Regions from separate parts of the Homo sapiens genome. Here region 1 is linked to region 2. Evidence: promoter capture Hi-C in human tissues and cell types (Jung and others, 2019). All regions are on one chromosome and are shown on one strand. The core of a region is centred on a gene start or on the middle of the fragment in contact, and the rest is flanking DNA. Distances in the headings are between cores, read along the strand shown. Region 1 overlaps GLMN (glomulin, FKBP associated protein). Region 2 holds the start of C1orf146 (chromosome 1 open reading frame 146).

The links. The method cuts DNA at HindIII sites, captures the fragments that hold promoters and counts their contacts. A contact is called where the count stands out against the background at its distance.
Region 1: a fragment that was not itself captured here is called in contact with the fragment with the promoter of C1orf146 in region 2 in 3 of the 25 tissues and cell types used here (adrenal gland, bladder and dorsolateral prefrontal cortex).

The regions. Positions count from the first base shown.
Region 1 is chr1:92,261,887-92,269,022 of GRCh38, forward strand. It overlaps GLMN (glomulin, FKBP associated protein), which reads right to left. Exons shown (of 19, transcript NM_053274.3): 10 at 6,219-6,249; 11 at 6,027-6,116; 12 at 4,814-4,855; 13 at 4,533-4,606; 14 at 2,668-2,752; 15 at 1,737-1,846; 16 at 977-1,040. Among named protein-coding and RNA genes, the nearest start is that of GLMN, 34 kb to the right of the region's middle. The HindIII fragment of the contact is 4,800 bases long and covers 3,262-7,136 here.
Region 2 is chr1:92,215,358-92,222,850 of GRCh38, forward strand. C1orf146 (chromosome 1 open reading frame 146) reads left to right here and starts at 2,558. Exons shown (of 6, transcript NM_001012425.2): 1 at 2,558-2,691. The HindIII fragment of the contact is 16,370 bases long and covers 1-7,493 here.

The sequences.
Region 1 (7,136 bases), core at 4,412-6,911, 50 kb after region 2:
TCTAGGTGGTGGGTAAACCAATGATCACTATAAAATTCTTTCAACTTTGCTGTACATTTGAAAAGTTTCACAACAAAATGTTAAAAAAAAATAGCACCTGATACAGAGTAAGCACTAGTCAATGATGGCAAATAGCTATTTTCAGCTGAAGAGGGATGAACGGGGGTTCAAATCACTGAATCTACTATAGATCTGTCAGGAAGGAAAGAGACTGCTACTTTTCTCATAAACCTTCATCCCAAATCACGATTTACCTAATTTAAAAAAAATTTTCTTTGGCATCTTTATATAAAAATGAATTACTAAAAAAAAACCAATTAACAACACATGATTCAGGTAGTTCTAGCTAATAGAGGTGACACATATAGGGAAAGCAATGATCAGAACAGGGTAGAAAGAGAAGATAAAAAGCAAATATAATTTTACTGTATGACAAATCTCCCTCAAATAGTTTTCTATTTATTGAATACTTCTCTATTTATTGAATACTTCTAATGATGTGCTATTTTTAAAAAATCCAACTTCCTAAACATATCTAAAAGGTGCTGTTAACAAATTCTGTTTTAGTGCTGAAAATGCTTCAATTTGTCATGTCTGATGAGGCAATATTAAAATATCAGATGATTTTATACAGCTCATGAGCTATAGGTGGAGGAAACTGAACAAGACACCATATGTACGTTGAGCTCCACAAGGTTAGTTGACTTAGGACCTGCAACTTATCCACCCAACAGGACTAAGTGCTTTCAGCAAGAAAGCAGACGTACAATAGGAAATGGAAAGGGAAAGGAAAGCTGGATGTGGGGTGGTAAATGCTCCTGGGAATTAACTTCAGGTTTCAGAATAATTGTTGGCACTCTTCCCGGCCTTTATATCTGGGTAAGATATTAAATATTGGCTTTAGGTACTGAATATCTGAAACATTCCTTATGCCTTTTGAATATACTCACAGTTTCTTTTCAAATACTTCACTTACTTGATTGTCATTTTCATTATCTTTGATAACCAAATACCTCAATAAATTTAATGAAGCCATAATCCTGTTAATTAAAAATATATGTTACTTACAGTATGGTTTTATATAGTCAACAGCAATCTCAATAAGCTAAAACTTTGGTCATATTTTTATAATTAGGTTTGCCAATAGAAACTATTTCCATTAATATCTTTTTGAGTAGTAATAACTTATCACTGTTTTCCATTTGTTTAAATCATACAATTGTGAAAATTATCATCCTTGTTTAAAGAAAGCCTTGTTATCTTTAATATTTGAGAGCATCATCTCTTGCTTTCTGAATTTTAAGATTACTTTTTAAATGCTTTAAACCATTTCTCAATATCCATTCCAGTATACTGAAACTGAAATTATATGTTCTATATGAAAAAAAAAATGACCTGGAAAACAATAAAACAACAAAACCTAAACACATAAATTACATACACAGATTTTTAGTTTTAAGTCACAAGTGCTGTCATTGCAAATTTCTATGGAATGCTGGGTACATAAAAGCTATCAAATCATAGTGCTGGTCATTCATCTAGAAAGAGGAGGTTTTAATTTTGTTTCTACACATTATCAAATCACTTAAATATGAAAAATCTTTATGTAACTTAATGAATTAGCCATAGATCATAAAATCACAGGAAAAGACATTTTATTACTTTAGGTTCCCTAAGCAGATGTTTCACATTTTATTCTGAATTTACTATGTGAACTTTGGTAATGGTCACCTCACCTATCTGAGTTTTGCAGTAAATCTGTTTCTGCACCCTCTGGGAGAAAAAGTACCAAATCAAGAAGGGAAATCAACTGTGGTCCTGTAAACCATTTGTTGTTACGTGTTCTCTGAAAAGCAAACGAAAAATTGAGAAAGCTTTATAATTCATGTAATTCATGTGTTTTTCTAATACCTTGACACTACAAAAATGAAGAATTGCACATTTAAAATACAGTTTTTAACTTTAATTTCCGTACTTTCATTCACTTTCCAGACACCAGGAACGAACCCTGCCAGTTTGAGAACACTGGTCACTCTGTTTTCCATTTAGAATTACTGAGCACTCAGAAACAGAAGAGACTTAAGTTTCCATTCATTTTTGAGAAGCATATAACAAAGCAAAAATAAGCCACAATATCAGCTCAAAGAGGCCCAGAGTGATGACTCACACCTGTAATCCCAGCATTTTGGGAGGCCAAGGTGGGTGGATCACTTGAGATCAGGAGTTCAAGACGAGCCTGGGCAACACAGTGAAACTCCATCTCTACAAAATCAAAATTCAGCCAGGCGCACTGGTGGACACCTGTAGTCCCAATTACTCGGGAGGCTGAGTTGGGAGAACTGCTTGAGCCCAGGAGGTGGAGGCTGCAGTGAGCTGAGATCATGCCACTGCACTCCAAGCTGGGTGACAGGCGTGAAACCCTGTCTCAAAAAAAACAAAAACAAAAACCAAAACCTCAAAGAATACAATTTAAACTTATAGTTAACTAAATTTCCAAATTCAGAGTTTTTAAAACATAGTAGAAATAGGGGAAAAAATATGCCTTAATAATATTTAAGTAATAGTAATACTAGAGATAGAGCAATAACTCACATTAATGTATTCTACATATGAATAAATATACCCTACGAAATAAATTGGTAATTGACACTTTGGCTATGTTCTTACCTTTAATGACATGTCAATTTGATTTTTGATATTTTGAATAATAAAAGCCTCCACACCTGAGTGATTACTTGTATTCAATAAGCACCTTGAAAGCAAAATTACAATAGATGTGAAATTATCCTGGACAGCATTAGAATTAAATGGTGATAAAAGTTTTACAAATTCAAAGAGGCCATGTGTTACTTCTAGGAATAAAAACCCCACAGTAATGGTAATTAGCAAGGTCATCAACCAATTACAAAGTCACCTGTAATAGTTATTGCTCTCACTAAATGGTAAATTCTTATTTATTTTATTTTACTTTTTTAGACAGAGTCTCGCCCTGTCGCCCAGGCTGGAGTGCAGTGGCACAATTTTGGCTCACTGCAACCTCCGCCTCCCGGGTTCAAGCGATTCTCCTGCCTCAGCCTCCTGAGTAGCTGTGATTACAGGCGCCCGCCACCGTGCCTGGCTAATTTTTTGTATTTGTAGTAGAAACAGGGTTTCACCATGTTGGCCAGGCTTGTCTCAAACTCCTGACCTCGTGATCCGCCTGCCTCAGCCTCCCAAAGTGCTGGGATTACAGGCATGAGCCACCACACCCGGCCGGTAAATACTTATTTATAACTGGATCTTCCAACAAGCCATTTCTATCAAACCAAAATTTGAATATTTTTATGAACATAGTTACAATAATTTAACATGGCAAGAAAGGGCACTAACATAATGGTCTAAAAAATCCCCAAATTATTTCCTGTGAAAGTAGTCCAGTGCTAGAGTAGCTTAATTGCAAAAAAAAAAAAAAAACTAGATATGACTAGCTTAAGAAAAAAAGGGGATTTATTGGTAGAGATACACATAGAACAGAACAGGAAAGCCGGTATAATACCTAAGAATTGAGATTTCATAAACTTGCTCTTACTATCAATAGAAAACAAGAAAAGATAGAATCAAGAGTGTTGGCTGGGCATGATGGCTCATGCGTGTCATCTCAACACTTTGGGAGGCTGAGGTGGGTGAATCGCTTGAGCCCAGGAGTTTGAGACCAGCCTGGGCAACATGGCAAAACCCCATCTCCACAAAAAAATTAGCTGGGCATGATGGCATGCACCTGTAGTCCCAGCTACCTGGGAGGCTGAAGCGGGAGGATCACCTGAAGCTGGGGGGCCAAGGGTGAAGGCTGCAGTGAGCCATGATCACACTGCTGCACCCGCCAAAAAAGAACAGTACTAATATTGGCCAATCCCAGGTAAGACATTTTAGCAAATCCAGCCTGATGCCCAATTTTATCAATAAAGTTTTACTGGAACACACCCATCCCCAATACAAAGTCAAAGTTGAGCACTTGCAACAGAGACTGTATAGCCCATAAAACCTATATTTACTATTTGGCTCTTCACAGAAAATTAATTAGAAAGTTTACCAATCTTTAACTTAGAGAGTTGCTAGAATCTTATCCACCTCAAAGAGCAGTATTAGTAAGCTCTTACTATTAACATAGTGCATAGCCTATCAAAGTTGTAATTCCAGAGCCATCAATTTGAACTGTGAGTAATGGAGATTAGTGACATACATAAAGTTCCAGCAGGAGCATCATCAATCTCAGTTTAATTATTTTTAAGTCTATTTCAAATTTAGAGTATTCCAATTGATTGAACTGCAATATATACTATTAGTCATACAAAATATAGACATATATATAGTATGTCTGAAATATTTGATTAACCCTTTCTCTAGCCATCACTGAGAATTTATAATATGGGTTCCAACCAGAGTTGAATTACATGTAAAACATACCGACATACTATGCCCTAAAACAATTACATGGCATTAACATGACTTTTAATCAACCACACACTTAGCAATTAGCCATGCTTGATACATACCTAAATAATGTATATTTGCCTTGTGAATCCAACTTGTTAATATACAGCTGAAGCATAGCTAAACTCTTTTTCCTCTAAAATGGAACAAACAATATTATTATATAAAATGAATAAAGCTTACCCAGACTTCATCACTATCCATTTTATGCATGTAATACATCCACACTTGTACCTCCTAAATAAAAATTTCACAAATTAAAATTTTTAAAAAGAAAATTAAATTATTTGTCAAATTTTCTCACTGTAACTCATTATTCTTTAGTCACCAAATATTTACATACCAGTGTCTCAATGGGGCAAAGTGTCATTACTTTCACTAAGCCCTGGAAATAAAAAAATGTAAAATTCAGATGTAAACAGATTATACTGACTGCAAACAAACAACTATAATACATCAATAGGATACTAAAAATTCAGAGAAGTGAGGGTAGGAGATTTAAAAGTGAAGTAAATTAATTTTTCCCTAAGCCTTCCATTCCAGAAAGCTAACTACAATTGATTTTTTAAGTGATATTGAGTAGAGTGTCACACAGTGTACTTTTAAAAGCAAACGATAATTTTCAATTATGTCTACAGTGGCAAGAAAATGAAATCAAATCTACAGAAATATAATTTATTAATTAAAAACAATCAAACAATATGTTAACAAAAACCATGTTTTTCTATTTAAATATTAGGAAAACCAGTTCCCACACTGAAATCTAAGGATTTCCTTGGATATCATAACTAACAAAGAGGATTGGGCAAAATAAACCATAGGAGGGAAAAACACAATGTGTATTAGTCTTTCTGGTAATGAGTCAGTGGATGCCTTAGATGGAGTCCTGAGAACTTGAGTTATGAGAAACATAAAGAAGCTTCATTTTCCAAGATCCCTACAGAAATAAAGTGTTAAAAGAAGAAAGTTATGCTTTTCTACTGGATGCTGTGCTATCAATAATGGTGGCCTCTAATAGCTATTCGTGTTTAAATAAATTAAAATTTAAATTTGAAACTTAGTTCCGGCTGGGTGTGGTGGCTCACACCTGTAATCCCAGCACTTTGGGGGGCTGAGGCAGGCTGATCACGAAGTCAGGAGATCGAGACCATCCTGGCTAACACAGTGAAACTCCGTCTCTACTATAAATACAAAAATATTAGCTGGGTGTGGTGGCGGGCGCCTGTAGTCCCAGCTACTCGGGAGGCTGAGGCAGGAGAATGGAATGAACCCAGGAGGTGGAGCTTGCAGTGAGCTGAGATAGCACCACTGCACTCCAACCTGGGCGACACAGCAAGACTACACCTCAAAAAAAAAAAAAATAGTTCCTTAGTCACATTTCAAGTGTTCAGTTTGGCTAGTGGCTTTCATATTGTCAAAGTTCTACTGGACAGCATTACACCAGAGTTTTCAAAGGTTGCAGAGAAAAGAGTGGGAAAGGAATCAGAAAAGACCTTACTTTAAGTTCAGAACAGGCAAAGGGCTATTTTCAATATTAGAATACATATTTTATTTACCTGAGGTACAGTAAGAAAACTCTTGATTTCTAAGTACTGGTAAAGTAGACTATTGTCTTCTATTCTCAATAAACTATTCTCCAGCAGCTCCTACAGATTAAAATATATGCAGATACATATATAGTGAAGTCAACAGCTGTTATTTGTTGACATAACTATGTATTTAAGTTATAATGGGAACAAACATCTTACCAATCCTTTGGAGATAACAGACTCTTCTGTTCTGAAAAATAATATTAAAATTTATCATGAATTTGTAAACTATTTTAGAATGATACTTCATCTTATGAAAAATACAGCAAAAACTGAAATTTTAACACTTTTAAAATGCATATCATTAAGGAGAAATTCTGTTGAAGAACTTGATCAAAAGTTTTAATCCATCTTTGATCTGTCTTTCGGTTTGGCTAAGGCCACTAAATCTGACCAAAATAAATCTACTCAGGGATTATTTCCTAACTTCAAAACAATAGATCTTCAACAGCAAGTGCTAAGAAACTAACTAAACCTGATATAACCAATGCTATATATTCCAGTTGATTATTCTGTAAAATCTTTCCAATTCTTTTTATTCAAAAAAAGACTCAATGACTCTGCAGTTTGGAAATCTCAAGAATTTAGGACTTAGATTCAAAACAATACATATTATCACTGTATGAATAACAGAAACTAAATGTAATGAATATAAAATCATTAAAACATACATAATACAGCAAATTTACAGAATTAGTAACTACTTGTGCCAGGAGACCCTTGGAAATTCCTGCCTTGTATGCTGAAGCTTTGGACATTGCCATGTTACAAATCTTCCTTCACCTGGTAAGAGATGGGACTGATAAACTGTCACTAGTGTTCATAGAGGATAATTGCAAAGCCCTAACTGATCTCAGGGGATAATTTAAACATGTTACATGTTATAGTGAAAGAAAACAAAGCATATAGTTCTGTGAAATTCTTTAATTTCTGTCTAGAAATTATGTATACCTGTTACTCTGTAATTTCCTTTTTTTTTTTTTTTTCTTTTGCGACAGGGTCTTACTCTGTTGCCCAGGCTGGACTGCAGTGGCATGATCTCTGCTCACTGCAGCCCAGACCTCCCAGGCACAGGTG
Region 2 (7,493 bases), core at 1,308-3,807:
TAGGAGTCTATTGCAATAATCCAGGTGAAAGCTGATGGTGGCTCAAACCAGAAAGGTGGTCAGGCTCTGGATATATTTTGAAAGTACAGGCAACAAGACTTCCTGATGGCTGAAAAGGGTATGTAAGACAGTCAAAGTATTTAAATAAAATATGTGTAATCTTTAATTGAGATAAGGAAGACTATAGATGGTGCAGCATTGGGAGGGGAAGTCAGAAGTTCAGTTTTGGACATGTGAAATTTGAGATGTCTATTACTGGAAATATTAAACAGCAATTGGTTATACCAGTTTGGAGTTCAGGGGAAAGGCCAGGGCTGTAGATAGATATTTGGAATTTGTCAGCACATGGATGATATCTAACACTATGAGTTAAGGAGGACACCAAAGTAACAAATATACCCAGAGAAGAAAAGAGGTCCAAGGACTGAGCTTGCGGCACTCCAAGCAAGATTAAAAGGTTGGGTTTTGAGGAAGAACCAATAAGGATGCTGATAAATGGCCAGTGAGGCTGGAGGGAAACCATGAGAGCATGATATGGGGAAGCCAAGGAAAGAAAGTTTTTCCAGGAGGAGGGAATGATCAACTGTAACAAGTACTGCTGATTGACCAAGTAAAATTAGTATTGACAGCTGTTTGCTGGATTTACCAATGACTTTGACATGAGCAATTTCTGTGGTATGGTGGAAATGAAAAAGTCTGATTGGAATAAATTTGATAAAGAATGGGAAAAAAGGGCATTAGCAACAGAAATTATAGACAATCCTTTTGAGTTTTTCTGTAAAGAGAGCAGAGAAATGGATTGTTAGCTGGTGTGGGAGAGGAGATTAAGAGATTTTAAGATGAGAGAAATAATGGCATATTTATTTGCTATTGAGACTATTCAGTGGAGAGGAGAAAATTGAAGATTGTAAGAGTCAGGAAATAATTGGTGGATATATATATATATATATATATATATATATTTTTTTTTTTTTGAGACAGTTTTGCTCTGTTGTTCAGGCTGGAGTGCAGTGGCATGATCTTGGCTCACTACAACCTCTGCCTCCCAGGTTCAAGCAATTCTCCTGCCTCAGCCTCCCAAGTAGCTGGGACTACAGGTGTGCACCACCACACCTGGCTAATTTTTTGTATTTTTAGTAGAGATGAGGTTTTGCCATATTGGCCAGGCTGATCTTGATCTCCTGACCTTGTGATTCACCTGCCTCAGCCTCCCAAAGGGCTGGGATTACAGGCGTGAGCCACCGCGACTGGCCGGTGGAGCTATATTCTTGGGTAAGCAAGAAGAGATGGGCTCTGTTGTCCATTTGAGGGCTGGCCTTACATAGGATTATACAGTTCACCTACTATAGTTGGAAAGAAAGCAGAATCTGGCATATAGATGTTGGTAGATTGGTAGGTGGACATCTGTGGAACTTCGTTTCTGGATGCTTTTATTTATCTCATTTGAATAGTATTTAATATTAAATACTAAATACTATTAAAATCATAAATCTTTATGAAATATTAGCAGTAACTATTTCACTTCAGCCGAAAATGAAGATGAGGAATAAGTTCTGGAGATTTGAAGAGAGGAGGAATTGTCTTAGTCCATTATGGCCACGATAACAAAATACCTTAGACCAGGTAATTTATAAACAAGAGGCCAGGTGTGGTGGCTTAACAAACTGCCCAAATGAGGCAGCAAGAGTGCACCTAATTTTAATATCAGTTATACAAAATGCCAAACATACAAAATGGTTATCACAGGGAAAAATTAACAGCACATCACAAGTGTGCTCCAAAGGATTTTTCCTGGAGCACCTTTCTTTCTACAGGAATACCTGTTTTACAAAGTAAGGCACATAGTTTTGTATCCTAACCATTAGGCTCAAGGCAAGTAGTGGTCTTTGTCTTTTTACATTTTTATGATTGTGACACTTAATAAATTGCTGAGCTTCAATTAGGTCTGAACATAATGGGGTCCTAAAAAGCAAACACACAGGCCCCTGTATGTCCTTTTGACAGCTGCTCATGAAAATCTACCTTTTTCATAATTTGGATAAACTGAAGGCCACTTTGATTTTATGTTGCAAATGACAGAAATCTAAGAATTGAGCCTGAATTTTAGAAAACTGTGAAAATCAATTCCGGACAACTGAGTCTAACACGCAAAAATCTTGTTTTTTTTTTTTTTTTTTTTTTGAGACGGAGTCTTGCCCTGTCACCCAGGCTGGAGTGCAGTGGTGCGATCTCGCTCACTGCAACCTCCGCCTCCTGGGTTCAAGCGATTCTCCTGCCCCAGCCTCTCGAGTAGCTGGGATTACAGGTGCGCGCCTCCATGCCCAGCTAATTTTTGCATTTTTAGTAGAGACGGGGTTTCACCATGTTGGTACGCTGGTCTCAAACTTCTGACCTCGTGATCCGCCCACCTCGGCCTCCCAAAGTGCTGGGATTAGTGGCATGAGCCACCGCGCCAGGCCTACAAATCTTGTATCTTCTTAACCACTTCCGGCTTCCTGCAAACCTCGCTCTAGGGAGCCAGAAGCGCGGAAAAGGTTTGCGGGGTCTGCGGTTGCGCAGAAGCCCAGCGACTGCAGAACCCTGCCCCAGGCACCCTGGGCGCTCTGCCCTACCGGCGGCGCCTCTCACTGCTCACGGAACGTTCTGGAAGTTTGGGAAACCCTGAGCGGTCTCTGAGGACCTGGTGAGCAGGTGGGTTTGCAGCGCTGGGGATGAGGCCTCGGCAGACCTGTCTCTTCGCGTTTTTCTTTCTTCGTTCTTCGCCGGCGTAGTGCTCTCTGACTTGCCGAGCTCAGAGCTTTACCTCAGGGCTTTGGCGGGTGAGGGGAGGAGATCCTGCCCACCCTATTTTCCCCTTGAGAATCGGTGTGGAAAGGGCTCCCTCGGGGTTTTCCCTGTCAGAAGTCCGTCACCCACCTGCGAGTGTAAATTTTATTTGCTTTAGGCTTTGTTGGTCACTCCGAAAAGTAAAGAATGGAAGAGACCGTGAAGATCCTTGTAGGCCGGCGCCTCACTGGACCCGTGAGGAGACTGAGCAGGGAAAGTGACTTGCTGGAGATGATGGGGCAGTGTTAAACTTAAATTTGCAAACACTCCAGAGCTTGGAAAAAACAAAACAGTAGCAACAAAAGCCCAGAATACCAGGGCCTTGGAACTGGCAAAGGTTTAAGAGGCCACTGGGCCCACGCTTTTTGTTTTTATTTTTAATTTAACTTTTATGTTAGGTTCAGGAGTCCGTGTGCAGGTGTGTTACATAGGTTAAACTCGTGTCACGGGAGTTTGTTGTCCAGATTCTGTCGTCCCCCAGGTGCCCATTAGTGACTGTCCCTCCTCCACCTTCTGGTCCCCCGGTCCCGTCCCCCGCGCCTGCCCCTCCCCTCTGTCCCTGCACGCTCAGCGTTCACCTCCCGTTTAGAAGCTTTTTGTTTTCAGGTGAGGATGCAGCCTAACCAGAGGTGACGTGATTTGCCCAAAGCCACACAGTCCTTGCTTGGCTGCTGGTCGAGGAGCTTTTCCCCAGAAATGCTGAGAAGGCACTGCCCCAGCCCCAGGTTTCTGATTCATTCCTCACCTTTAACAGGGACTTGGGACACGACTGACCCCACTCCTTTCTCACTTATTGTGCACGTGATTACTTTACTTCTCTTAGCTTTAGTTAAATTGTTTTTAAAACCTATGTATAAGGGTGTAAAGATTTAAATGAACATTTATGGATTACTAACTGATAGGCACAAACATACATATCCACATACATACCAGTAACTACTCCAAAAAGTTCTTGTAACCTTTGCATATATGTATTCATAGCTATGTGGGTGTATTAGTAAGTATGTGTAGGGGGGGTTATAGAAGTTGAAGCCCTTCCCCCAGCCAACTCACCATTTACTCATTCACAAATCTTTGAGTGTCTACTGAGTGCCAGGTGCTGAGTAAGGTAAAACAGAATCAGAATGTGTCCCTGCTCTCATGGAGCTAGTTAACTTCTCATTCATTCATTCATGCAATAAATGAGGAAATTAGAGAGCAGCTGGTTTCAACTCAGCAGGAAGAACTTTCTAATTATTAAAGTTGTTGAAAAGTAGAATGAAATCACCTTGGGAGATACTAACTTACCATCACTGAAAGTGACTTTCTCTTTCTTTTTTTTTTTTTTTTTTTTTTTTTAAGACAGAGTCTCGCTCTATCACCCACGCTGGAGTGCAGGAATGGGATCTCAGGTCACTGCAACCTCCACCTCCTGGGTGTGCAGCCACACCTAAGGAATGGGGAGTTATATTCCCCACCCCCACTGTTTAATATTTTTAGAGACAGGGTCTTGCTATGTTGCCCAGGCTGGAGTACAGTTGTTATTTACAGGTGCAAACATAATGCACTGCAGCCTCAAACTCTTGGCCTTAAGCAATCCTCCTGCTTCAGTCTCCCGAGTAGCTTGAATTATAGGTGTGTGCCACTGTGCCCAGCTCCATGCTCCTGTTCTTAAGGTTGGAGTATATATACATAAATTTTTTGGAATTATTCTGCACAGATTTGTCTCTTCTCCATTTATTGGTTTGTTCAAACCTTTATATCAGTATAGACTCATGGATATTCACTTTATACTTTGGATTATAATGCTATTTTATTTTGCTCAAATTGTTCCAGCTTTAGCCATTGGGAGCTCTTTCAGTTGGTTCCTGTGCTCTTATGACATGCCCCATCAATGCCATCTGTGTGGGGTTTTTTTGTTTGTTTGTTTTTGTTTTTAAGTACTTTCTTTTTGGCACTACTCTGGACTCATCTTGTATGTTTCCTGTCCCAGTCCTAGAATCGACCATTTCTCCAAGGAGCCCTGGTTCCTTTTTTGGAGAATGCTATTTAGAAACCAAAATCTGGGTGCTAGGTGTACTTGTTGCTAGCACCCAGGTGCTAGGGTGTCGTTTGTTTTAGGCCCTTTCAGCTAACAGAGTAAAGAAATAGATGTGTGTGTACTAATCTGGGTATATACACATACAGTCATGCATTGCTTAATGATGGGGATGTGTTCTGAGAAATGCATCATTAGGTGATTTTGTCATTGTGAGAACATCATAGAGTGTAATTACACAAACTTAGATGGTGTAGTCTACTAGACATCTAGGCTATATGGTATAGCCTATTGCTCCTGGGCTACAAATATGTATAGTATGTTAATGTACTGAATACTGTAGGCAACCTGCATATCTAAACATATCTAAATGTAAAAAAAGTAAAAATACAGTATTATCATCTTGTGGCACCACCAGTCATATATGAAGTCCATTGTTGACTGAACAGTTAATATGCAATGCATGACTGTATCTATAAAATATTTCTGTGTGTATTCTTCTGTATCTATATTAACAATGAGTTCATACTGTGACCGCCAATTCTAACTATGGACCATTCTAGCCTTGAGAGGTAGGATTAAAAAGAGACTTTAAACAAAAGCATGAAGAATGAAGTTTTTAAAAATGCTGTTATGAGCATTCTTGTATAAGTCTCTTAGTACAGATCACATGCATTTCTGTTGAGCATACATTTAGGAGTAGAGTTGCAGAGTTACAGGTTACGAGTATCTTCAACTTTAGTAGATAATGCCTGCCAAGAACTGTGAAAAGTCTTATCCTACTTGCAAGCTAATAAGCTAGCCTGTTACTGTTTTATAGATGCTTGCAGAATATATAAGATGCCTCAGAGACAAAGAATATTTTTAATTCATGGAAAAAGCAGGAATTAAATTAAATCATGACTTGGATAAAGAAAATGAACATATACATCATAGAATACTATGCAGCCATGAAAAGAAAGAAATCATGTCCTTTACAGCAACACGGATGCAGCTGGAGGCCATTATCCTAAGTGAATTAGTGCATGAACAGAAAACCAAATGCCACATGCTCTCACTTATAAGTGGGAGCTAACCATTGAGTACATATGGACATAAAGATACAAACAATAGACAATGGGGACTACTAGAGGGGAGAGGGAGGAAGGAGGATAAGGGCTGAAAAACTACCTTTTGGGTACTGTGCTCACTACCTGGGTTACAGGATCATTTGTACCACAAACCTCAACATCACACAATATACCCATGAAACAAACCTGCACATATACCCCCTGAATCTAAAATAAAAGTTGAAATTTAAAAAGAAATTTTTACCACTGAAACAACATGCTGTAAGAGCAAAGGTGGTATTTTTCTAGCTTTATAAGCAGTGCAGATTATTTTATCTAAAAGTTGAAGATATTTTTCCTTTTGGAAAATAATTGGGATGTGGTAACTTCTGGGACCTTTTTCAGTGAATATCAAAGTGTTTCAAAGAGGTTATTTTTCACTATGCATAACAAGGGATTAGTTTTGCTTTCTTTGCTTGATTTCAACTGCCTGGCATTAATTTTAGTTTCCATAGCAGCAATAGTAAGCAATTGGCATTGGAGTAGCCAGATTTGCTGCAGATACCAGAATCTCACCATAGGAAATATTTTAAGTAGCCCTGGTGTTGGACTCCTGTACTTCTCTTCTGACACAACAGAATTTGCTAATTTTAAAATGACACACTTATCATTATTGAATATTTTCAGAGCTATTTAAAAACCTGTAAGATGGCTGGGTGTGGTGACTCACACCTGTAATCCCAGCACTTTGGGAGTCTAAGGTGGGCAGATCACCTGAGGTCAGGAGTGACCATCCTGGCCAATGTGGCGAAACCCCATCTTAACTAAAAATACAAAAAAAATCAGCCAGGCGTGGTGGCGCACACCTGTGGTCCCAGCTACTTGGGAGGCTGAGGCACGAGAACCACTTGAACCTGGGTGGCGGAGGCTGCTGTGAGCCAAGATCATGCCACTGCACTCCAGCCATAGTGACAGAGTGAGATTCCGTCTCAAAAAATAAATACAGGCATTTGTGTGCATGTGTGTCTATATTGTATAATTTATATGCAGTATAACATATGCATGTATATATAACATATACAACATGCATGTGTATATATAATGTAACATGCATGTATATATAACATATATAACATGCATGTATAACATATGTATGCTGTGATGTTTTGACACATTTATACACCTGTGAAACAATTACTACAATCAATATAGTGAATATACCCATCCCAAAGGTTTCCTCCTTCCCTTCTGTAATCCCACTTTTTTTCCCATTATCCCTTCTTCGGTTTTTTTTTTTTTTTTTTTTTTGTCACTATAGTTTGTATTTCTTTTTTCTTTTTTCTTTTTTTTTTTTTGAGACGGAGTCTTGCTCTGTTGCCCAGGCTGGAGTGCAGTGGCGCCATCTTGGCTCACTGCAAGCTCTGCCTCCCGGGTTCATGCCATTCTCCTGCTTCAGCCTCCCGAGTAGCTGGGACTACAGGCGCCTGCCACCACGCCCGGCTAATTTTTTGTATTTTTAGTAGAGATGGGGTTTCACCATGTTAGCCAGGATGGTCTTAATCTCCTGACCTTGTGATCCGCCCACCTCGGCCTCCCAAAGT